Regions from separate parts of the Homo sapiens genome. Here region 1 is linked to region 2. The links are contacts of gene promoters, found by promoter capture Hi-C in blood cells and fetal thymus (Javierre and others, 2016). All regions are on one chromosome and are shown on one strand. Each heading gives the region's core, a stretch centred on a gene start or on the middle of the fragment in contact. The rest is flanking DNA. Distances are from core to core; before and after follow the strand shown. Region 1 overlaps ZNF185 (zinc finger protein 185 with LIM domain). Region 2 holds the start of BGN (biglycan).

Region 1 (6,997 bases), core at 3,298-5,797, 520 kb before region 2:
GTCCCCAACATCAGACTTGGCACGTGGTGGACACTAACACACAGGCACTCAATGAATGAGTGAAGGAAATAAAAGTCACCCCGTTGGTGAGAGGTGCTATCCCTGAGTCTCAGTGCAGGACCAGTGGATGAAAGGCAAGGTAAAGAGGCCCAAGATAGGCTGGCTTCCCCCGTTCAAGGTATAGTCTGCCTTTAAGGGAGTTTTAGAACCAACATGCAAGACATTGAAAGAAATCTTGCAAGAGCCATTATTGACTTAGATCCAAAACAGCCTCTCTCATGTCTAAAAAGGCACAGAATTTTGCAGATCTGAGGAAGAGGGATGCATTACCTTTTTGCTTCTTTTCAATTGCTTAGTGTTTCTAATCATACTTAATCCACACTAATGTGCGCAATTATAATAAATGGTAAGATATCACATGTGTCAGTGTTAAAGTTTTCTTTTGAAGTGTAATAACTTGGTGTATTCAGCTGTGTGATTTCTTTATTCCTATTGCCTGAAGCCATTCTCTGTACAAAAGTAAACAAGTACTTAATAGCAAGCTCTAGACACTGGGCATGCACAGGAACTGTGGAATTCTAGACACATCAAATCTTAATGAAGAATATTGTATTGTGGCGGCAGAGAGCGGGGGCGGTCCATCCTTCTCATGATTACCACTGCAGACAGACAGCCACCTAGTCATTAGTGCCCACTTCCAGTGACCAGGAGCTCAGTTCCTTACAAGCCCCTGCTGTCTGTGGTTTTAGAAGATGCATTCTTCAGTTGAGTTAAAGTCCATTTCTGTATGTCACCCACTGGTGGTCTTTAATCCCTCCGCTAGATGCCAGCTCTTAAAATAGATGAAAATACTTCTCAGATTCTGTCTTGGTCAACTCTTCTCACATTTAAACACCCCTGGTCCCTCTAACTCTTCCTTGACAGTAATTCTGAATACACATCTCTCAAAGGCCCTCCTCAAAGGTGACCCCAACACATACTCCAACTCATTCCTCTAGATGTGTACCAGTGTAATCTGCATGCGATCCAAGTCTTGATTCAACCCAGGGACAGGAAAGGGTGATCAGGAAGTCCAAAGATAGACATAATACTCCGAGAACTCCTTCTGCCACTGAGTAGGGGCCTCAGGGCCATTGGACTAGTGTCCCTCTAGCTATTTTCTCACCCCAACTTTGGCCTTCATCTTGTTACAATGGGAAGGAAGGAAGAGCTTTTACTAATTCAAATGACAAGGACTGCAACAGTAGCTCCTAACTAGGTATTTGTAGGACTTTTAATTGGTGACAGTGTGACACAAAGACCTAAAGGAAAAATAGGGGAGGGTCATTCTGAAACAGCAAGTCGATCCTATTGTTGGGCCTCCTCCATTACCATGACTCCTCCTTTCTATCCCAGGTTTGTATCTGTGACGGTCTCCTACCCATGCATCTCTATGTCCTCTGGGGACTGCTCCTTGCTTAGGATTGTGTTTGGCCTGTGGATTTTCCTCCCCAGAATGTATTCCTCTTGTGAAACTTCTCTGTACAGTATCCTCTGCCTGTGAAGGTCCCAAACCTGCTTCTGAATGCCTTCTTCCCACTGTCCTCTGCCTCCTAATGCCTTCTGCTCCTGGCTCCTTGCACAGTGCCTTCTACCTGCAGATGCCTTCTGCTCTCTGATCTCTGCTGCTGAGTTTGTTCATCACCTAGGGCCCAGCCAATGAGGCCTATCTGCACAAGGGCTTCTGCCTGTAATTGCCCTTGCCATAGTGTGCTTTGCTTAGTTAGTCTTACTTAAGGTCTGTTGATTTTCTTGTTTGTAAAGAACCACATCATTGACTTTTTTAAAAAAAAATCATTTTATTGATTTTTTTCTATTATTTTCTGCTCTCTGTTTCATTAATGTCACCTTTAATCTTTGTCATTTCTTCCCTTCTACTTGCTTTGGATTTACTTTGCTCTTCTTTTTCTAGTTCCTTTAAGTTGTAAAGTTAGGTTATTGATTGGAGATCCTTCTTTCTTTTTTTTTTTTTTTTTTTTTTTTGAGACAGGGTGTTACCCTGTTCCCAGGCTGGTGTGCAGTGGCACAGTCATGGCTCACTGTAGCCTTGACCTCCTGGGCACAGGCAATCCTGCCACTTAAACCTCCTGAGTAGCTGGGACTACAGGCACGTGCCACCATGCCTGGCTAATTTTTTCCTTTGAATTTTTTTGTAGAGGTGGGGTTTGGCCATGTTGCCCAGGCTGGTCTAGAACTCCTGGGCTCAATGAGTCTTCCCACCTTGACCTCCCAAAGTGCTAGGATTACAAGTGTGAGCCACCATGCCCGGCCAATATCTTTCTTCTTGAATGTATGCATGTACAGCTGGAAATTGTTCTGTGAGCACTTCTCTAGCTGCATGTTGTGTTTTCCTTTTCATTCATCTCAAAGGTTTTCTAATTCCCCTTATCACTTCTTATTTGATCCACTGGTTATTTTGGAGTTTGTTGTTTAATGTGGGTTCCCCAAATTTCCTTCAGTTATCAGTTTCTAATTTCATTCCATTATGGTAGGTTAACACACTTTGCATAACTTCAACATTTTAAAATTTGTGCAGGCTTGTTTTATAGCCCTGTGCTTTGCTGTGAATGTGTTCTTCATGGGGTTCTCCCTGCACAGCTGCGGTCACTGCCTGTGACCACTGTCCACTCTGCCCTCTGCCTTCACAGCCTCTCTGAATAATGCACCCTGCTTGAGAACTGCCTCTCCCTCTCTCTGAAAGTCTGCTGCACATTGCTCTTCATTTCTGAGGCCCACTGTACACTGTGCTCCGCATTGTGCTAGCTGTCCAGTTGTGAGCTTGCTGCAACGTGGCATGCATAATGCTTGGCTGCCAGATCACCTCCTTATCATGTCCTCTGCCTGTAGTGCCCTTGGCAGATCCCCCTGCTTCAGTATCTCCTCCCACAAATGTCTTCTGCCCATCGATGCCTTCTTTTGATCAGCACCTTGATGTTCCAGTTGGTCACTTAATCACTCAACAAGCATTGATTGGATGTCTACCCATGTGCCAGACGTGGGGGCCCCAGTAAAGTAGACACAGTTTGTATTTCTGTGGAGCTCACAGTGTAAGAGGAGAGGAGTAAATCAAACATCCCACAACAAAATACTGTTGTGATAAGTGCTCTGAACAAAACATACAGGGTATGTTTTGGAGACAGGGTCAAGGCCCTCACTGCAGCCTTGACCTATATGCTATAATATAGTGACCTACTCTGGGCTGCTTGGTTATCGGGGGAACCCGCCCCCAATATTTCAACGTAAGTTCTTTCTGTTTTCCATAAATGTCAGCCAGCTGAGAAATAGAAAGAGTACAAAGAGAGGAATTTTATAGCTGGGCCTCCGGGGGTGACATCACATATTGGTAGGACTGTGATGCCCACCTGAGCCACAAAACTAGTAAGTTTTTACTAAGGATTTCAAAAGGGGAGGGGGTGTACAAATGGGGAGTAGGTCACATGCTTTAAGGGGCAAAAAGCAGAACAAAGATCACATGCTTCTGAGGAAACAGAGCAAGGACAAAATCAGAACTCCTGATAGGGGTCTATGTTCAGCTGTGCATGTATTGTCTTGATAAACATCTTAACAGAAAACAGGGTTCAAGAGCAGAGAACCAGTCTGACCTCAAATTTACCAGGGCTGGGGGTTTCCCAATCCTAGTAAGCCTGAGGGTACTGCAGGAGACCAGGGCGTATTTCTATCCTTATCTCAACCTCATAAGACAGACACTCCCAGAGCGGCCGTTTATAGACCTCCCCCCCCAGGAATGCATTCCTTTCCCAGGGTCTTAATTATTAATATTCCTTGCTAGGAAGAGAATTTAGTGATATCTTCCCTACTTGCACACGTCTGTTTATAGGCTCTCTGCAAGAAGAAAAATATGGCTCTATTCTGCCCGACCCCACAGGCAGTCAGACCTTATGGTTGTCTTCCCTTGTTCCCTAAAAATCGCTGTTACTCTGTTCTTTTTCAAGGTGCACTGATTTCATATTGTTCAAACACACATGTTTTACAATCAGTTTGTACAGTTAACACAATAGTGGTTCTGAGTGGACCTGATGTATATTCTCAGCTTACGAAGATAACAGGATTAAGAGATTAAAGTAAAGACCGGCATAAGAAATTATAAAAGCATTAATTTTGGGAGCTGATAAATGTCCATACTAAAATGAAATCTTCACAATTTATGTTCCTCTGCTGTGGCTCCAGCCAGTCCCTCCGTTCAGGGTCTCTGACTTCCCGCAACATCTCTCCCTTTCTTTTTGAACATAACAGGATTAAGAGATTAAAGACAGGCATAAGAAATTATGAAAGTACTAATTTTGGGAACTGATAAATGTCCATGTTAAAATGAAATCTTCACAATTTGTGTTCCTCTGCCACGGCTCCAGCTGGTCTCTCCGTTCGGGGTCCCTGACTTCCCACAACACTTAGTCAGGGAAGCTTTTTTACATTTTTGTTTTTAGAGACAGATTTTTACTCTGTCACCCAGGCTGGAGAGCAGTGGCATGGTCGTAGCTCACTGCAACCTCAAACTCCTGGGCTCAAGCAGTTATCCAGGCTCAGCCACCTGAGTTGCTGAGACTACAGATGCACATACCACCACATCTAACAGAGAAGCTTTTCACAAGGACATGATATTTGGCTTTAGTATGAGTTTGCTATACAAAAGGAGGCTATCTTCCAGGCCCTCTTTAATGTTCCCCTGCACTCAGCTCCACCCCTCAAGGCTACTCACTTTCCTTGTACAGTGCATCAAGCCTTCTGTGGGGCACTGGGGATACATCAATGAGCAAGACAGACAATCTGTGAATTTGTGGAGTGACCATCTCATGGGGAGAAAGACAAAGCAACAATCCTATTTCAGTCGCAATAGCTAAAGGAGCACAGAGGTGTGTCACCTGGATTTCTGGGGCTAAGGATGGTATTCTGGGGGAGGTGACCTCTGAACTGAAACCTGAAGGATGAGAAAGAATCATTCATTCATTCATCCATTTAATAATTTAAATATTTCCTGAGCACCCACTGTGGGCCACACACTATAGTAGGCACTGAGGACACACCAGTGACAAATCAAAGACCCTGTCCTTCTGGTCAATGATAGGAAGCAGGTGCTAAATAAACATGAAAGTCTTTACTCTTTTTTCATTTTCTTTTGAACCCACTTCTTTGAGGCTCTCACCTCCACCATGGTACTAAAAATGCTAGTGCTAAGGTCCCCAATGACCACCACATTGCTAGACCCCATGCACACTTCTCAGGCCTCATTGACTGAGCAGCAGCGTTTGGTCCAGTGGACATGTATTAGTTTGTTTTCACACTGCTATAAAGAAATACCTGAGACTGGGTAATTTATAAAGGAAAGAGGTTTAATCGACTCACAGTTCCACATGGCTGGGAGGCCTCAGGAAACTTACAATCATGGCAGAAGGTGATGGGGATGCAGGCACCTTCTTCACAAGGCTGCAGGAGAGAGAAGTACAAGCAGGGGAAATGCCAACGCTTATAAAGCCATCACATCTCTGAGAAGTCACTATCACGAGAACAGCATGGGGGGAACTGCCCCCATTATCCAGTCACCTCCCTCTCTCAACATGTGGGAATTATGGCTCCCTCCCTTGACGTGTGGGGATTACAATTCGTGATTAGATTTGGATGGGGACACAGAGCCAAACCATATCAGGTCCATTCCCTTTGCTAGGCCTCTAGGCCCATTCTGCCTTTCCTTCCACCTCACTGGTCACTCCTTTTCTATCTCCATTGCTGGTTCTTTCTCATCATCCCATTCTCTCAACTTTGGAGTACTCTAGGACTTTGTTCTTAGACCCCTTCGCTTTTCTATCTGCACTCACTGCGTTGTATCACTGGGGTCCAGGCTTCAACAGATACAGTATACACTGCCTCCTTCTGGAATTGCAGCTGCTCCAGCCCACATCATCTTCCTGAACTTCAGACTTGTGTTTCAACTTCCCACAGCTCATTTCCACCTGGGGAGTCTAATTGTCATTTCATACTCAACCATGGAAGCCATGCTCTATGCATTGCCATCCACAGCTCCGTAAATGGCAGTCCCATTCTTCAGCTTGCATAGACCAAAACCTACACATCACCTGCTGATCTCCCACTGCACTTCCAGCCCATCAGCCTAGCCTGTTAACTCTCCCTGCCAAACAGATCCAGAGGCAAACCATTTCTCCCCACCTTCACCATAAACATATTGTCCCCTAATCCCCCATGTGGATGATTACAATAACCTAAGCAATCATCTTTCCTTCCTTCCCACCCTGAAGTGTACCCCAGCATGGCTGCAAGAGTGAAGAGTTTCAATCCGATCACATCCCTCTTCTGCTCCATACCTTCCCCAGGCCTCATTTTACTTGGACTAAAAGCCAGAGTCCTCAAGGTGGCTGGCCAAGCAGGTGCTGCTTTATCCAGCCCCCACCACCTTTCCTTCTTACTCATACCATTCCAGGCATTCTCTGGCCTTGAGCTGTGTGCTGGTTGTCTCTTCTGCCTGGAATGCTCATCTCCCAGATGCCCACGTGGCCATCTCCCTTGCGTCCTTCACATCTCTGCTCAGATGCTACCTTCTTCCTGATCACCTTCATGGACCATCCAATTTAAAATTCTGTGCACACCCATAACACTCCTTATACCTGCTTCCTTGCTTTTTCTCTGTAGCACTTATCACAATCTAACATACTACATGTTTTCTTCTTATTTTATTGTTTGTATTTCCTTACTTAAATGAAATCTCCATGAGAGATTTTTGTCCTTTTGCTCCACTGCTGAATTCCCAGTGCCTATAATAGTGCCCTGCACATAGTAGGTGCTCAGTAAATGTTGACTAAATGAATGCATAAAATAGATGATTTCAGACAAGTTCTGTAAAATTATAAAGCAGAACGAGCTAGAGCTCTGGTCTCCACATGCTAAATATGGTCTCCACATCCCACGTTAGGCTACTTGTGTTTAAATA
Region 2 (6,818 bases), core at 875-3,374:
ACGGTATTCAGAGCTGTTTCACCCCCACTGGGACTCCTGGAGGCTGAGGCCCTGAGTGACAGCTCCTGGGTTCTCAGTCCCCAAGCAGTGCAGGAAGGTACTGGGTACCAGCACCTCGGGCAGCAGGCATGCCTTGAGTGGGTTTCTCCTTTTTTCTGAAACGGCTTTACTGAGAGTGGCTGTGCTTACCACACGATTTGCGCATTGAGCACGTACAAGGCAAGGGCTTTTATATGGTCTATTCACAGAACTGTGCAACCATCACTCAGTCGATTGTAGAACATTTTCATCACCTCAAAAAGAAAACCCATACCTTTAGGTACCACCCCTCTAGCACCCACTGCCCACAAATCCGCTTTCTGTCCCCACAGATGAGCCTAGTGTGGACATTTCAAATGAATGGAACCAGAGGCTCTGCGGCCTTTTGCGACTGGCTGCTGTCACTGAGCGGAATGTTTCCAAATGCTTCTCTCTCCACCCAGACTGCTAGTCAGGCTTCGCTGCCTGTCCCGCTCTCTACCGACATATTTCTCCACGAATGAGTTGGCAGTGGGGGAGGGAAAGAGGGTGGGACAGAGATGAGACCAGGCTGCCAAGAGTCGGACGCTGAGGCTGGGCAAAAGGTAAAACACACAAACCTGCCGAAAGACAAGCCATCTCCTTTGTCTGGAAAGGGCATATGTGGTCTCCAATCTCCTCATTCCAACCATGAAATCAAGAGAGAACCAGGGTTACCAGCCTGGCCCCTGGTTTCCCACGTCTCTCTTCTCCCTGGCCCAGTCTAGAAGCTTCTTGCAGGCAGGTACCACAGTTTGGTCAAGGTGCCATGCGTCCCAGGTCCTAGCCAGGCCCTGGGCTGCCGCTGGTGAACAGGAAGGGGGTCTGTGCCCTGCCATGCCCCCAGGTAGAGCTCCCCTGGGAGCATCCTCCCTGGCCTGGGACCTCCCAGACCCCACCCCCCGGTTGAGTGATGGCACTGCCAGGGGTTGAAGACCCTCAGCCCTCGACGTTGTCCTCTCTCCATTGGATGCCGCCTCTCTCTAGCCACCCCTCTCTCCCTCTCTGCCCCTTCGAGCTTTTTCTCTCAATATGCAATTTTCTCTTTTGGTCTTCCGCACTCTTGGCCCCCAGTTCTATTGCAGATCTGTTTCTCACTCCATCTAAACTCTTACCCCTGTGTCTCAGGAGCTGCTCTTGCTGAGGGAAGAAGGGGACACTACGGGACAGGGGGGCAGTGTCGTACTAAGGACCTGGGCTCTAGCCACTGGAGGAACTGGACTCATTTGGGCCCTCAGGAAGCGGCTGAGTCTTGGTGGGGTAACCCGGTTAGCCCCCGTAAGTGACCAGCACAGGGCTGAGCCCAGAGGAAGTGGCCACCCACAGAGTGGTTCTCATGTCCGAGGGGACCTGCAGGGATTGAGCAAGAAGACTGACTCGCTGGATCCTTCGTCTCTGAATCAGTTCAGGGCAGGCAAGCTGGGGAGCCCCCTGCCCCGTCCTGCCACCACCAGCCGGATCGGGCCCTCTTTTTAAGGGAAGAAAGTCTGGAGTGGAAGGGAGGGCACAGGGCGCCAGGAGCCTACATGAAGTCCTTCCAGAAATCCACAACAGCTACCTCTCTGATCCTGGAGAAACCACCTCCTTGCTTAGGCCCAAGCAGGTTCCTGGCAGGCTCAGGACCAAATTCCAGGGGCCACTCATGGGCCTAGCAGCCCAAGGCCGCCTCCCCCTCGTCTTTCTTCCATCTCTCTTTCCTCTGCCTGGCGAGATGCCAGCCAGCACCTCAGTGTCCCCATCTGGGCAGTGGAAAGTTTGACTCTCTGGGTCCTTGTTTGAGTGAGTGCGAGTGTGTCCGTTCCTTTGCTGTCTGCCCCAGGCGGGGGAGGGGGGGGGAGGTGGTGGGGGCGAGGGGGCGGGGGCTCAGCTAGTCCAGCCGTCTACAAGAAAATTGCTCCCTTTGAAGCTGCCAGGGGGGCCGGGAAGCCTGCCCCCTCCTGCTCGCCCGCCCTCTCCGCCCCACCAGCCCCCTCCCTCCTTTCCTCCCTCCCCGCCCTCTCCCCGCTGTCCCCTCCCCGTCGGCCCGCCTGCCCAGCCTTTAGCCTCCCGCCCGCCGCCTCTGTCTCCCTCTCTCCACAAACTGCCCAGGAGTGAGTAGCTGCTTTCGGTCCGCCGGACACACCGGACAGATAGACGTGCGGACGGCCCACCACCCCAGCCCGCCAACTAGTCAGCCTGCGCCTGGCGCCTCCCCTCTCCAGGTAGGGCTGGCTTCAAGCTGCCTCCTCAGCAACCCAGAGATGCCCCTGGCTCTGCTGCCTCCGCTGTCCCAAGCCCTGGTCCTGCTGTCCCCAGTGCCGCGAGGGTGTCCACAGATTTCCCCGGTGCTCTCTGTAGGCTGCTGATCCACGCCCCTTCATCGCCACCCTGCGGCCCCCTTGGTCCCTGTCAGGCTTCTGCCTCGTCTCGCCGCCCTCCAGGCACCTTTCCCTCACCCCTTCCTCTCCCTCTCCCTTCTGACCTTGCTCTGCTTCATCCACCTCTTGTCTCTCTGCCTCCCGCTCGGGGTCCGTCTTCTTGGCTACCACCCTAGAGCGTGGCTGGGTGACTGGTACCCCAGCTTTGCCAATGGCCCTGTTTCATCATTGCAAGTCCCAGGCGCATGCTCCACTCCCTCAGCCTCGCTCTGCCCAGGCGCCTCCTTGCTCCAGGGCTTGGCGCCTGGCCCGGGTTGGGTCGGATCGGGGAGGACCGCCCAGCGCCCACCGAGCTCAGCACCCAGGAGCAGTCCTCCGCTGCACTGCCTGAGGCCAGTCCTTGGCATGGGCTGAAAGACTTAGTTTCCCAGGCACACCCCAGGCACCCTGCCCAGATGTTCCTCGCTCGCTCACCCCCAGGTTAATGCTCTGCCTCTACATCCTCTGTGAGAAGTCTGGGTCCTGGGAGCCCTGGCTGCAAGGGCCCTGACTGGGGGTGCCTGGGTGGCTCAGCCCTGTCTGTTTCCAGGACCCCCTTGGACTGGGACTCAGAATGGGTGTGGAGGGGAAGGAGAGAAAATCAGGCAACTGTGCCATGCTCCCCAGGGCGGACCTGGCTTGGGGTCCCAGAGGGGCCTGCCAAGGGACCCAGGAGAGGGAGCGAGAGAGTGCCCTGGAAGGCCCACGGAGGGGAGCGCCCCCTCACTGCTCCATGGGCGGGGCTGGGTGCCTGAGCGCCTGCTGAGCAGAGCAGGGGGCCCAGGGATCTGCAGGGCACAGGGTACATCAGTCTCCAGTGGTCTGTCTTGGTGGGCAGGCCTCTCTCCTGCTGTCCTGGCTGCCAGACTGCTCAGGTCCCATCCTCAGGGGGTCCTGTTTCTGGGCCCTCGCCCCTCCCTGGCCTGCCAGCTCTCTGCCCTATAGCAACTAATTGGAACTGAGACAAGCTGGAGATGCTCAGCCCCCCTGCCCCCGTGCCAGAAAGGCTCCCGGGGACCAGCGCCCAGGGGTGCGGGTGAGCACCTCCTGGTGACACCCAGCCGCCGGTGCCAGCCGCACCCCAGGAGAGCTGGTGTATGAGCATGGATGTCTTGGTGCGGAGCATGCCCATGTATGGCCACTGTGGGCCAGCATGGTGAGCCTTTGAGGGCAAGCCCGTGTGGGTATATTGAAAGGAAGATGCAGGGCTGCCTCCAAGCCACCAGGGCTGGGCGGTGGGAGCAGGTTGCGAGCCAGGGAGCAGAGAGGGCTCCCATGGCAAGCTGGCCAGCTGTGGGTGGCAGCCCTGGCCTCCCTGGCCCACCTTCAAGCCCCAAGGACCCGTACGGCAGTGGGCATTAACCCTACCAACGCATAGATGGGGAGTCTGGGAAAGGAAGGGGGGTGTTTCCAAGGCAAGAATGAGTTTCCTGTCTTTAGCAACATTCCAGAGTCACTCAAACAAAGCTATAGCGTGTCCCTTCCAGTGACAGCGCCAAGTCCCCAGAGGAGGGGTTTGTAATGAGTTCACACTTGACAGTTAGCACTCAGAGCCTTCAGCAAGGGCTTCTGAGTCCTTGCCACCCCGTATAGAGGTGGGATGAGGACCTCCCCACCTGCCGTCTCCTGTGCTTCCCGGGCCCACCCCCCACCCCCCACCCCCCAGCATCTCCAGCCTGCCCGGGAGTCACATGTCCTCGGCCCACAGAATCCCCAGCACACGCCCCACCCACAGGCCTAGCCCCAGCCCTGGGGTCCCTGGCACCCCACCTGCCAGGGCCCCTCCCCTGCCTTGCTCACCCCCCAACACCCCTGCTTGTCGGAAATGTCTTCCCATGCCCACCACGACCCCCTCCCACTCATCTGTGGGCCGGAGAGCTTGGTCCCTGCCGCACGTTGCCCCCCTAGCATCCAGGCCCACCACCGAGCCCCCGACAGGCCTGGGAGCCCCACTGGTGGGTGGGGACCCACCAGCTGGGGGTCTTGCTCACACCGAGGGGCTGGGGGTGGCGGTGGCTTTCCCAGGGCACCCTGCCTTGGGCTGCAGGCCGCTGGGTGGGCACCGGCTCCCTCGGAAGGCAGCGCAACCCGGGATCCTGCCGGCCCTGGCCCCCACCCTGCCGACCGGGCCTGGGGCGATCAGTGCCCCAGCTCCTGTCCTCTTCTGCTCAGATGCTGGGTTGGGAGATCAGGGGCCACAGCTCGGCCACTCAGAGCCCTTTCCGCAAGTCTTAGAGGGACCAGCTGTGGGGTGTGTGCAGAGGGGCTGCGCTGTGGGGAGGGCGCATGGCTCAGTCCTCCTGGCCTGAGGCCCGCCTAGCCTAAGTGGCCTCCAGGACCCATGGCCAGGCCCTTCTGCAGCCTTCCAGAAAGAACCAGCTTCCCAGGGTTCCCTGGGGAAGGCCTGGGGCCACCTCCTCTGGAGGGGTGGGGCCTGTGCTTCATTCCTCCTTCCCCAGGTCCCCTTCCAGGCCAGAAGATCCCCTCCACCACTTGAATCCCACAGCCAGAAGCCCCTTCTGGGACTCTAGACTCCTGGGAACCATCCCAGCTGCCCCCTTCGCTGTTTCGCTGTTTGCCTTCTTCCCCTGCCCCGTCATGGCTCTAGGTCAGAGCAGCCTCTGGGGTGGCTATGGAGGGGCCACCAGCCTTGGCTCTTCCGAGGACTGCAGAACCCTCCCACTCCCAGCTTCCCACCTGCGCAGCTCTGATCCCAGCCAGCCCAAGGGGCAGGGTCAGGTCCCGGCTCCCTGGCAGGCCTGGTGAAGGTGCTGCCCATTCCCATGAGGCTCATCTCTGAGGCTTAGGGGCCTGGGGCTCTAGCCAGCCTTCTTGCATGGAACTCTCCTGGTCCACTGCATCTTAAGCCTGAGCTCCACTTAAACACTGGCCTGAGATAAGCTGGAGGACCAGGGGCCCAACGGACTCTGTGGGCCTCTTGAACTTGCCTCTGCTGGCCATCCCAGTCCTGTTTGGTCCCTGAGGTGTTCAGATGGGCCAAGGGGAGCATGGCGGGCAGACTCCTGGGTGGCCAGAAGATTAGAAGGCAGCCCTGTCCCTGGAGGCAGGGGAAGTCTGGGAAGCCAGTGTGACTTCTATCCTCTGGAAGTCTGAGTCCCTGCTTGGCCTTGACTGCCATCCCATGGTTCTTGGAGGCTGCCCTCATGCAAAGAGACACACACCCATGGGAGCCCAGCAGTCCCAGGAGCCTGAAGCTAAGCAGGCTGTGGGCCACCCTGGCTGGCTGAAGGAGGCTAATCCCAGCCCAGCCTGAGCCCCCGGCAGAGAGCGGGTTGCGGCAGGGAGGGGCTGCAGGAAACCTTCCCCTCCCCTCCTGGCCTTGGTGGGCCTGTACCAGGGAGGGAGGGAGGCAGGGCCCCAGGCTCTGGGGGGCAGGCCGGGAACACCTTCCCTGGGGCCCTGAAGTGCTCGCCTGGGGAGACGATGGCTTTTCCAGGAGACTCCCTGCAGACAGAGGCAGAGGTGAGAGGCTGGGCGGGGGCTGCCCTGCTGGCTGTGTTGGGGCTGAGGAGGGGCTTCTGGATCTGTGGGCCATAGGGAGCTACTGATGGTCCTCAGAAGGGCCATGCTTCCAGGGGAGCCCCCTGCACAGCCCCGAGAGTGTGAAGCGTGTCAGCTTTGGGGCCTGTGGCACTGTGTGCATTGGGAGAGGGTGGGTCCAGACATGGGGGCAAGGACACAGACGGACAGACAGACAGTGTGTGCAGCCCCAGCTCTGCTGTTTCCTCACCGTGTGGCCTTGGGCAAGAGTTTGGGGCCAACTTCCTGAGCCTCAGTTTACCCCTTCATCAAGTTCTAAGAGCATTGCTTCCTTCTTATAGTCAACGGGGGACGGCAGGATGCTAAGTAAAGAAATCACATGAGTCCCCTGCTCTGCCTCTGAGAGGTGACAGCATCCTCCCTTTTCCTTGGAGACTCTAGCAGGAGGCCCCGGATCTCTTCGGAGAGTGGGAGGGGGCAGCAGTAGTCCGTGTGCAGAGGACCAGGAGCGCACAGTGGGAAGGGCTGAGTCCCGCACTCCGCCGACTGTGGGGACAGGCTGGACCTTGACATGGGCGCCACAGGCTGCAAAGGGCTGGCACAGAGAGGTGGGAGGTGGCTGGGCGCATCAAGGGAGAACTCCACCCTTGTCGCCACCCTGCCAGAAAACCTCTGGAAAGGATTTGAGCAGCAGATGAGCCGGGGTTTCCCAGCCCCTCCACACGTGGCTGCAAGGGGAGCAGACGCCCAAGCGTGGCTGCCTGAAGGGCATGCTCCGGCAACGGCAGGGGCTTGGAATGTGGCACAAGGTCCACCCCTCCCCACTCCAGCCCCCAGCCCCTCAGGCAGCCACTCCCACAGATG

The links. Contacts are between HindIII fragments. The CHiCAGO score rates a contact against its expected background, and 5 or more counts as called.
Region 1: a contact is called between a fragment that was not itself captured here and the fragment with the promoter of BGN in region 2, in 13 of 17 cell types (M1 macrophages, M0 macrophages, total B cells and 10 more). The highest score is 15.3, in M1 macrophages.

Annotation. Positions count from the first base shown.
Region 1 is chrX:152,973,056-152,980,052 of GRCh38, forward strand. It overlaps ZNF185 (zinc finger protein 185 with LIM domain), which reads left to right. Exons shown (of 25, transcript NM_001395254.1): 25 at 1-419. Among named protein-coding and RNA genes, the nearest start is that of PNMA5, 18 kb to the right of the region's middle. The HindIII fragment of the contact is 177 bases long and covers 4,460-4,636 here.
Region 2 is chrX:153,492,856-153,499,673 of GRCh38, forward strand. It overlaps BGN (biglycan), which reads left to right and starts at 2,125. Exons shown (of 8, transcript NM_001711.6): 1 at 2,125-2,258. It also overlaps a transcript of HAUS7 not described here. The HindIII fragment of the contact is 11,109 bases long and covers 787-6,818 here.